Regions from separate parts of the Homo sapiens genome. Here all the other regions are linked to region 2. The links are contacts of gene promoters, found by promoter capture Hi-C in human tissues and cell types (Jung and others, 2019). All regions are on one chromosome and are shown on one strand. Each heading gives the region's core, a stretch centred on a gene start or on the middle of the fragment in contact. The rest is flanking DNA. Distances are from core to core; before and after follow the strand shown.

Region 1 (3,133 bases), core at 38-2,537, 360 kb after region 2:
TGTGGTGGCAGGTACCTGTAATCCCAGCTACTCAGGAGGCTGAGGCAAGAGAATAGTTGGAACCTGGGAGGTAGAGGTTACAGTGAGCCGAGACTGCGTCATTGCACTCCAGTCTGGGCAACAAGAGAGAAACTCCGTCTCAAAAAAAAAAAAAAACAAAAACAAAACAAAACAACAACAACAACAACAACAAAAAACAACTAAAGCTGACACAAGAAATTAACCATTACTCCATTACTTCTACAGTATAACAGACACCTAACTGGGTCCTGGAAATCATGTAAGAGAAAAGTTAGGTGAATCCTTTCTTTGAAATTTATAATCTAGTGGCTCAACCCAACTTAGAAATCTCTTCTGCAGTATTTTTGATATGGAATCATATTCTACTTCTGTTTAGATATCTCTGGGGACTAAGATCTAGCAGTTATAATTTCTAACACATAGTTGACCCTGCTTATGATTTAGATTTAACTCTAATTTATTGAAAACTATTATATACCACTTCTATGTGTTCTCTTGTATGTTTCATCTCATGCATTTGAACTCATAAACAATACTGTGAGGTGGGTAGTCATTGACCTGTTTTTAATTTCCAGCTGAGAAAGGTGAGGTTTAAAATAATAATTATAAATGAAAAGAAAAATTATTTAAGAATTAAGCTTTCACAGTGAAACTACCCTACTGTGTTAGCTGTGCTAATCAAATGAAAATAATGGTGCTGATATTGTTTGAAAAGGAACTTATGCTGTTTTGTAAACAGTAAATAATAGAATTGAATTTCCTTGTAAACACAAATGCAAGTACTTTATCAATCTTCTACTAAGATTTCATTTGAAGTTTGGCTTAATATAGCTACATTAAGAGCTACATTAAGTAGTTTTTTTTCTCCATCAGACTAATGCTGCTCTCTAGTCAGAATATCACAAAATCAAATTCCTTCATAGTCCTCAACACACTTTGATTTTTGTATGGTCCTCCCCAACCCCTCCATGACCACAAAGCAAGAAATCTCCATGTATGCAGGGATTATAGTTGTGTTTTTCTACAGTGACTTTTTCATCCTAGGGCAGATTCTGGATCCCTGTGGGTGCTCAATAAAGATTTAAATAATTAATACATTACTTTTTAAAATCCTTCAACATAGGATTATAATTGTGTACTTATGAGATTATATTTGTGTACTTATGAGAACCTCCTCACCCCACCACCCCACTATAGATTTAGTTTCCTGTATGGTATGGACTATGTCCCAATCATGTCTGAATTCCCAGTATTAAGCGCATGGCCTAGCCTAGAATAACCTCAGTCATTTTATGCTTGCTAATGAAAGAGTCCTCACTGAGAGTATCTATCCTTCTGGCACATCGAGAATACAGACAAAGAATAAAGCTGTCAACAAAAAAACAGACAGGATTGTGGTAAGGAAGATGGGGCAGAATACATAGAAGAAAAACAGATGATGAATGGGCATTTGTCTGACTGTTATCACCTCATGCAGTTCAGCCCTTTTCACCCAGACTTATTCTGGGGCTGTGGAAATTATGCTTGGACTCCAGTTATTTTTAATAAACTATCTTAATGGTAGTCTTCAGCAGAGCTGAGATTCTCTTCTCCTTTGTCAACCCATCTTCTATCCACTTTACTGAGTCACTTTTTTTCTGGTTCTGATTTATTTGCTCAACATAAAAAAAAATGTTTTTAGCATCTACCATGTGTCAGACACTTGCAATACTGATGTCACTCAAGTATCAGAAAAGATAACTCTGTTCTCCAGAGTACCAGAGGACTTGAGATGAGTTCTCTGACAATTCCATAGCCTGTGAAATCCCCAAGCTTTCGCCACAGTTTCTGCTAATGCCTGAAGATTAATATTCTACTGTCTGTCACTTCTTCATCTCCATGTGTGGAATCTTGCTGCATACTTGGTTACAGAAACAAATCTCAGCCATTTTGTGAATCCCTGAAAAGATTCACCTCATATAAAAGCATTATTAAAGAGGGGAGAATGTTTTAAATATTTTGTGGAGACCTGTGGGACACCATCAAGTGGACCAATATATACATAATGGGAATGCTGGAAGGAGAGGAAAGAAAAAGGAATAAATATATATATATATTTTTAAAAAATGGCCCCAAAACTTCCCAAATTTGATAAATAAATCTATACATCTAAGAAGTTCAACAAACTCCAAGAGTATAAACACAAAGAAATTCATACCAAAAAACATTATAAACTATCAAAAGAGAAAGACAATGGGAGAATATTGAAAGCAGCAAGAAAGAAGTAACTCATCATTTACAAGGGATACCGAGTACGATTAATAGATTGTATCTCAGCTGAAACCATGGAGGCCAGAAAGCAATGAGATGACATATTTACAGGGTTAAAAGGAAAAAGAAAACATATCCAGCAAAAAACTACCTTTTAATAATAAAGGAGAAATTAACACATTTTCAGATTGACAAAAGCTAAGGGAAGTTGTTGCTAGTAGATCTTCCCTACAAGAAATGCTAAAGAGAGTCCTTCAGATGAAAATGAAAGGACACTAGGCAATACATCAAACAAATAAAAACAGAACCCCGTTAAATATAACTACATAGGCAAATATGTAATATAACCCAGTTCATTTTGGGGGCTGCTTTAGGGTTTCTGTCCATATATTTTTAATTATTTTTCCCAGAAAATAGGCCTTACTTTTCTGTTTCTATGTGTTATATTTTTTTGTTGTACTTGAAAACTAGACATTTTGAATATTATAATGTGGTAACTCTGAAAACTAGATTATCTTTCCCTCCCTAATGTTTGCTGTTGTTGCTTGGTGAGGGCTTGGTTATCCATTTGTTTAATGACTACTCCAGACTATTTTTTATAAAGTCTGTATTTCCTGTCATGTGTGGTAATTAAAATCTCTGTTCCATTATTTCAGTCATTAGCTAGTGATCTGACAGAGTTTCTTAAATTTCTGGAGCCAAAAAGACAACAACAAAACTACTCTCTTGGTCTACGCAGGTTGGCTTTGGGCTGAAATAATCATTCAATTCTTTGCCATTGTGTCTACAACCCTGCCTTGGCCCTTACTCCCTATTTATGCAGAGCTGAAACATCAGCCAGAGGTCCAGACTAGGATCTTTT
Region 2 (3,578 bases), core at 1,043-3,542:
CATTTACCTGTCATATACTGGGGGTTTGCCCTAAATTCATGTAATGAATATTTTCATCATTAAAAATAAGTTTAAAAATCATGATCTTAGAATATTAATCTTGGACAAGTCCTTGTAAAATGATAAACAGAGAAACTAAGAAAAGTTTCCATTTATTGAACCCTTAATATGTGGAAGGTACTATGCCAAGTGTTTGCCATATATTACCTCATTTGAATGTTGCAAGAGCCCTGTGAGACATAGTTTGTCATCTCCATTATATGAATGACAAAGTTGAGGGCTGAAACGTTAGTCACTTCTTAGAGTGGGGAAGGAGGAGGTTAGTGTGGGATAAAATAGAGAAGCTAGGTTTTTAAAACAAAGCATAGAGGAAAAAAATATTTAATGACTGTAGAGCTTGGCAACATCCCTTTCAATCCTTGTCCAATTTACCCTGTTTGAGCAAACCAGAGAATACTCATATTGTGCACCTTTTTCTTCCCCACAAAGCAGTCACCTTCCTGAAATGCAAGGGCCAAAGCACGCTGACTTACATCTCCTGCAAATGACTTGTATGCGCACAAAGCCAGAAACTCTTCACTTGGTTGTCTAGGACTGAATAAATCTTCTTCAGTCCTGAATTGGGCTTGCCTGGCTGGGATGGATAGTAGTTTTCCTTTCTAAAACACATATGGGAAAGCTCTGTAAAAATGGGGGAAAAAGTCTACAAAAACATGAAAAAGAGGCATTCATTCTTCAAGTGGTGCTCCCTGTCCTGCCCTCCCTCCGGACAGAAAGCTTTTCCAAAGAGTTTCCAACAGCATCGTACTTCATAGCTGTCAGCTTTAGAATCTGCAGATGCCTAAACTCAAAACCTCCTGACATTCTGGAATCAAAATTTGACATTAACTTCCAGCCCCGGGCTACTACCTTTTCTCCAACCTGTGCCAACACAACCTCCTGCTTGTAAAATACAGCCAAGTCTCAGACCTGCCAGCCTAGTGAGACACCCTCAGATTGGGTGAGATAAAAAGCGGGGGCTGGGGGCGGGCTGAGGAACAACACACAAGAAACAATCCAAGACTGGCTCAATGCCTCTTTTAACTTCCAGAGTGATGGCAGTTTTTGGCAATGACAATGATTATCCAAACTTCCAGTTATTAAGCAGTCATTGCTGATCTTTCTATACCTCATTTTCTCCTCAAAACGACAGCAGACGCTATTGTCCCCATTTTAGAGATGTGAAAACTGAGGATTAAGGAAGTGATGTATCTTTCTCAGGGTCATATGTATGGTGGTGGGGAGAATACCAAACACCTCTGGCTTCAAACCTAAGCTCTTATTCCTCTTACAACACTGATGGGTGAGAAGAACCCCTGTGTTCTTTCCAAAGTACACCAGGGGCAGCAGGGTTCCCATACCTGGGGGATGTTGTTGCTCAGATCTTTCTGTGATGAGAGGTGAGGAGGAGGAGGTGATTCTAGAGACATGTGGGACGCTGCTGGCTCTAGGCACCCCAGTAAAGCTGTTCTCCACCACTCTCTAGCTGCCTGTCAGTTATTCATCTGGCCCAGGAGCCACCTCCTCTCTTCTGTCCCCCAGCTCTCATTTCCAGGGTGAATATTTTGAGGACCAAATGAGGGAATGGGTACAAAACTCTTTGTAAACTTTATGTAAGTGCTGTTTAGATATAAACTTTTATATTCTCCCTGCACTCCTCTATCAAACTCCCTCTAACCCATCCCAGGGGCAGGCTATGAGCAAAGTCTGCCTTAAAACTCTACTGCCCTAACCCTCAAAATAAAAGATATATACAGGTGAATCAGCCAGACTAGAAGTAGGAGAGCAGTTGAAGAGAAAATTTTTACTTTTCCTCTGCAGAACAGCAGAAGATAACAACTTTACGAAAAGTTCCTTCCAAGTCTGACTATTCATAAAGTTAAAACAAACAAAATTACAAGACCAGAAAAGTCAAGGTGCATCTGATATAACCAATACACACTCCTTTTTTTTCCAGCGGTGGAAAAAAAAACCCCATATGTTTTGTAATTATAATATAAAATCACAACTCATTTGGTACCAGGAATGCAATCCTTACATCATAAGGATCTCTAGTGATGAGGGCAAAACAGACTTACCTTTCCGATGGGCGAGAGACCTAGGTCCTTGGAAGAAGTACCTGGAGTGTGGAGCTGCGGCGGTTCCCACGTGCGCGTTCCCCCGAGTTCCCCAGCAGCGCTGCCTTTGTGCCCACGGAGGCGGGGGCGTGTATCTGCGCGCGGGAGAGGCGGGTGACAGTAGGCAGGCTGTGGCCGGTGCAGCCAACTTTGGCTGGCTTATATAGCGAGCTCCTTCCTCTGTAATGGGACGCCTCGCCTCCAGACATCCTTTCCCACTTTTTCAGTTGGCGAATTAAAGGAACAGCCCTCCCAGCGGAACAGGGTTAGCTCATGAAAGACGCACTCACTCCTGGCTCTCGGCCAGGGAAGGAACCCATTTGCATACAATTTATGGCGAAAGTAGGAATTCCCGCCTGCCCGCCCCCGACCCCGAGTAGCTGTTAGTGAAATGTGATTTTTGCTTTGCTCCCCACACGGGTTTTCTAATTGTGAGACGGATGCCTGGGGAGCAAGAGGGAGTAGGATCCGCAGCCCTGGCTCCCCTCTTGTACTTGGTCAAGCTGGAAATGGGACCAGGGCTCGCCTGGGCTCTGGGCAGCAGCTGCTCAGTGGCACCTCGGAGCGAGTACAGGGACTGAGCCCAGTTCCTGGAAAGAGGAGATAAAGCCCTTCAAAAGCCTGGGGGGTTTCAGGTTTCTCTGGGCCAGCGGAGAGATAACCCAGGATTAGGTCTCAGCAGGTGGGGATCGTGCGGGACGCTCACATCAGCCCTGCTTTTCTTGTGTGGGAGCCAGCCTTGCCCAGCTGCTGGGAGGCATCTTTGTTCCAGCCCCAGTGTCCTGCAGGGCAGTAGCTTTTTGACATTGTTCATGCCCTGTGCCTGGTGTGGTCTTCTCAGCTGGGTCTCCAGGGGGAAGGATTTCTGAGGTTTTCTCTTAGTGCTGAAAGGCGTCCCCCACAGCCCTTTCTTTAAAGAAAAGCAATAATTTAAAAAGGTAACAACCTAATCCTTGAGCCATAAGCTGCGCCTTTGCTTTCCAGCCTGCCGTGGATTTCCTCCAAGCTCTGAGTCATCCGTTCGTTTGGTGGTTAGCATGCATTGAGTATCCTCAGGGCATACAGGGGCATTTAAGGGAGTGGAGAAGTAGCACTTCACCCGTGCCTAGAGACTTCTGAGCCTGCCGCAGAGCATAGTAGTTTGTGACAGTGAAGTAAAATGAAGCATTAAATGTAATTCAAAACGCAACTACCATTGAGCCCTCCCTTATTAAGTCTATAATCAGGTGCTGTGCAGGGTACTTTATGAACACTATTTTTGTTCACTATTTTTATTATATCCTTGTAACCAGTAAGTAGGATAGACACAAGTGTCTCTTTTTTACACAAGAAAACTGACGTTTAGAGAAGTAATGAAACTTTACCAAGGGAATACACCTGGGAAGTGTTTATATTACAACACTGGGCTCCAGAGATCTATTA
Region 3 (3,609 bases), core at 1,107-3,606, 280 kb after region 2:
TAAGAATAACTAATACCCAAGAGGGTATGACCCTGGAGCAAGGCATGCTGGGAAAGCACATTTCTGGGTGCATGTTGCCTCTGTGCCTAGAGACATGGATTCAAATAAAAGTCACAGCTACTGTCCCACCGGGGGCCATTGCTTTGGAAAGTTTAACTGAGCTTTTGAATACATCTTTGTTTGCCATTCTTATTCAAGGTTATCCAAAGACAAATCTGCTTCAAGAGAGGAGAAAGTAGTAAATTTAAATGGACCTTTCAAACAACGTTCAGTCTAAAAATGGAGAAGCTCAAGATCAAATACGTATTTGAAATCACTGGCTAAGAAACAAAATTAGTGTTTTCAATGGGCATCGTTTCCTTGGTCTTGCTGGCTCAGAAGAGCAAGTGCAAGGGTTGAGAAATTCTGTTCTTGCTCAATTCCATTAATGGTCAGGCAGTTGGGGGAAGAAAGCCAATCACCTCCCATCCTTTTCTGACTATTTTTGTTGTCTAGAGTTATGTCCATAAGAGGTCAACTCGCTGTGGCTGAAAAGAAGGGAGCGTATTGGATATTTAGTTGTGAACTTTTGCATGCATAGGCTGAGATGGGCTAGTCAGAGATTAATCATACCTGTGGGGCCAATTTGTTCCTTTCAACCATCATGGGAGGGAACCATGATTATTAGCGTCTCTACTTTATAGATGGGAAAACAGATTCCCAAGAATTTTGGTGACTCACCCAAGACCATACAATAACCTAGTGACAGAGTCAGAATGTGAACTGGAATCTCCCCAATGCTTGACTATACTACAATTATTGGAGGACCTAATGATCTTTTTTATCTTACCAAAAATCAGAAGAATGTTTAGTGACCAAACTCTGCATCTGGTCTTATTTCTCTTGACCTCTAGACTGAAATGTTCCCAATTTCTCCTCTTTCTGAGCCATATAGCATTGCCAGCTGGTAACTTCTCAGTAGGCTTAGTGAGATCAAATATGTGAGAGTTTTCAAATTGGGGTGTTTCAGCTTCAACGACCATCATGTGCATCCCTGGAATCCCAGGACACTGGGGCATAGACAAAGCTTAACCCCATCATATTATTTGACATAAGGGGAAACAGATTCAGAGAGAAAGAAGGAGTTGCTCATAGTCACACAACTGCTGTGACATTGCATGTCCATCGGTGTTTTCCAAGAACTGATGAAATAGATGTTCAAGGAAGCTCAAAGAGAAGAGATAAGGAGGAAAAACATTCATTATTAACAATCTCTGTCACTTCCTTGCTGTGCAATCTCTGATAGGTCTCTTAAACTTTTTAATTCTCAGCTACCTCCTGTGTTAAATAGTAATCATATTGGAAAATACCCCAAAGGTATATGAGGATTAATTGATTCTGTGTATGTAAGTCTCCAAGCACAGGGCCTGACCTTAGTAGAAATCAATGCATAGGAGCTATAATAAGGTCTTATCAGGTCAGAAGCACAGAGAGAAGGAGTGGGTTTGTGAGCTTGAGCGGGACATTGCTAGAGGGAGCTGAGAGAGTGATCTGAGGGGATGTCTGTGAGTTCCCACAGAGCAGTTCAGTTTGGGAAAACAGAGGGGTGAAGATAACAGGAAAAAAAAGGGCATGTCCTTTGGTAAATTGCTTATTGTTGCCCAGATATCACTGTGGTAACAAGGAAAGCCCCTGAAATCAGTTTGTCCACAGCTCAAGATATAACTCCCCAGGGTTTTCAGTGGCAAGTTAAGGGGTTCCAAGGAGGAGCCAGGAATGAGGCAGTCACAGATGGGAACATTTATTTCTTTGAGAGTCTTCCGTTTAAGATGTTCTCAGAGTTTTGGATGAGCTAAAGGGCTCTTCAGGCTAGAACTTGGTCTTGGAGGGCAGCTTCCCTTCCACCTGGCCATGTTTATCTTACTTCCATTAGAAGGCAAGATGCCAACTTTCCTATTCAATGAAGTGTTTAGATTCCATGAGGTTTGTAAATAGCCTCTGGGAACTCCTTTCTGAAACTTCCCATAGGACTTCTAAACTCTCCTTAATCAGAGCAGATTGCAAGAGCAAATGCTTCTTATTATGGGTTTTAAAAAGGTGAGTAGACCATAGATAAAAATCATAGTAAAAGTGGGAATTTGAGGAAGGTCTGTTTGCTCAGGAAAATTTTCTAAATTTCAAGGTTATAAATGAAACTGTAGATGATCACTCAGGCAGGATGTGGTTTAGTTTCTTCATGACCATGATAATGTTTTTCACATAAAAAGATAAGTAGTACTCATAGAATGATGTAGAGAAAATCATTTTGTTTGAAAGAATAAATTGTTCAAGCATTTGTAGGCAGTCATTCAGTTTTAAGTAGCTACAGACAACCCTTATCTGTTCAGTTACAGACAATCCTTATCTGTTCATGGCAAGTAGCCACATACTTTTCACCAATATCCTTTTCTGTAGCTCCCCAGTGAAGAGTTGACATTAAAGTTCCAGGGTGGAGTTGGAGTAATTTTGTTTTCCTCCAGGGGACACAAGTGCAGAGAATGGATAAAACACAAACACTAACAGAGAATAGATAAAGCTTCACTCTTTAATGCCACCTCCTGGAGCCCATATGAAACCCAAGAGTGAAGAAAGCAAAGGGTTCTTAGGCATAATAGGGCATTAAGGATAACCATCTCTTATTTCTTTTCATTCCAGACAGGGTTTGGCCTGGCAGTTCAACCTGATTGCATGAAGGGTTGTGGTAGGCAGAGATGTCTGATTGCCTTTGAATTCTTTGTTTTCTAACCAGAGGGGAGATAGTTCTTTCAACAGAAAGTCCCAGCAAGTGCAACAACAACCGCGGCCTGGTGTGCCTCTACTTGCCTTGGCTGCCTCAGAAAGAGCCCTGAACACTCCTCCTAGGGCCTGTCTATGAAACCAACTGGATGTAGTCTTATTATTTATCAGAAGTTGCCAAGCAAGCAGTGGTAGACAGCAGGCTTTCAGGGAATTATCCCAGGGATTCCTTACCAGTCTTCAACCAGATATCACACCAGAGCAATACATATTCCCCATGCAAGAAGCAGAGTAAGCAATCCATACCCTTAGATACATAACACTGATTAGTGCCTCTGTTGTTAAAGTTATTTCCCTTTGTATAAGATGTATTCAATGTTTCAATGTTTACAGTGAATTTAAGAGGTAGATATAATAGTTATGGTGAAAACCCTCATTTTGCAGAAGAGAAAACAGAACATTGCCTATGCAAAATGAATCTACCAAGGTCCGCAGCTATTAAGTGCAAAGTACAGGATTTAAACCTGTTTTGAAAAAATTGACAAAGTCTCAGGGCCTTGTCCTGGGTCCATTCATTCCATTCAGTCACATATATTCTAACTCATTCATTCATTCCTTTAGCAAGGATGAATAGAGCACCTGCTACGTTACAAGCCCTACTCTAGGTACTCAGGTTACGTCACAGAACAAGAAAGACACAAACATTTGCCTCTGCAGTAAGATATAGAATAAAATATGTATAATGTCTCCCTTTCCATTGTCAGCCATCACCTTGCGCAGCACGGCTTTCTACTTAAAGAGTGTTTATTGTGTAGGCGAAGTGGGCACAGACAACGGACGATAATCACAATACCA

The links. Contacts are between HindIII fragments. The study calls those that stand out against the background at their distance.
Region 1: a fragment that was not itself captured here is called in contact with the fragment with the promoter of TNC in region 2 in 2 of the 25 tissues and cell types used here (dorsolateral prefrontal cortex and mesenchymal stem cells).
Region 3: a contact is called between a fragment that was not itself captured here and the fragment with the promoter of TNC in region 2, in 4 of the 25 tissues and cell types used here (IMR-90 fibroblasts, hippocampus, lymphoblastoid cells and 1 more).

What each region holds. Positions count from the first base shown.
Region 1 is chr9:115,480,550-115,483,682 of GRCh38, forward strand. No RefSeq gene overlaps it. Among named protein-coding and RNA genes, the nearest start is that of DELEC1, 340 kb to the left of the region's middle. The HindIII fragment of the contact is 4,934 bases long and covers 1-3,133 here.
Region 2 is chr9:115,115,865-115,119,442 of GRCh38, forward strand. It overlaps TNC (tenascin C), which reads right to left and starts at 2,293. Exons shown (of 28, transcript NM_002160.4): 1 at 2,118-2,293. All of the region lies in intron 2 of LOC124902255 (a long non-coding RNA gene), which reads left to right. RefSeq lists an enhancer at 2,572-3,391. The HindIII fragment of the contact is 7,931 bases long and covers 1-3,578 here.
Region 3 is chr9:115,393,932-115,397,540 of GRCh38, forward strand. The region is part of intron 5 of DELEC1 (deleted in esophageal cancer 1); the gene reads left to right. Among named protein-coding and RNA genes, the nearest start is that of DELEC1, 250 kb to the left of the region's middle. The HindIII fragment of the contact is 5,994 bases long and covers 1-3,609 here.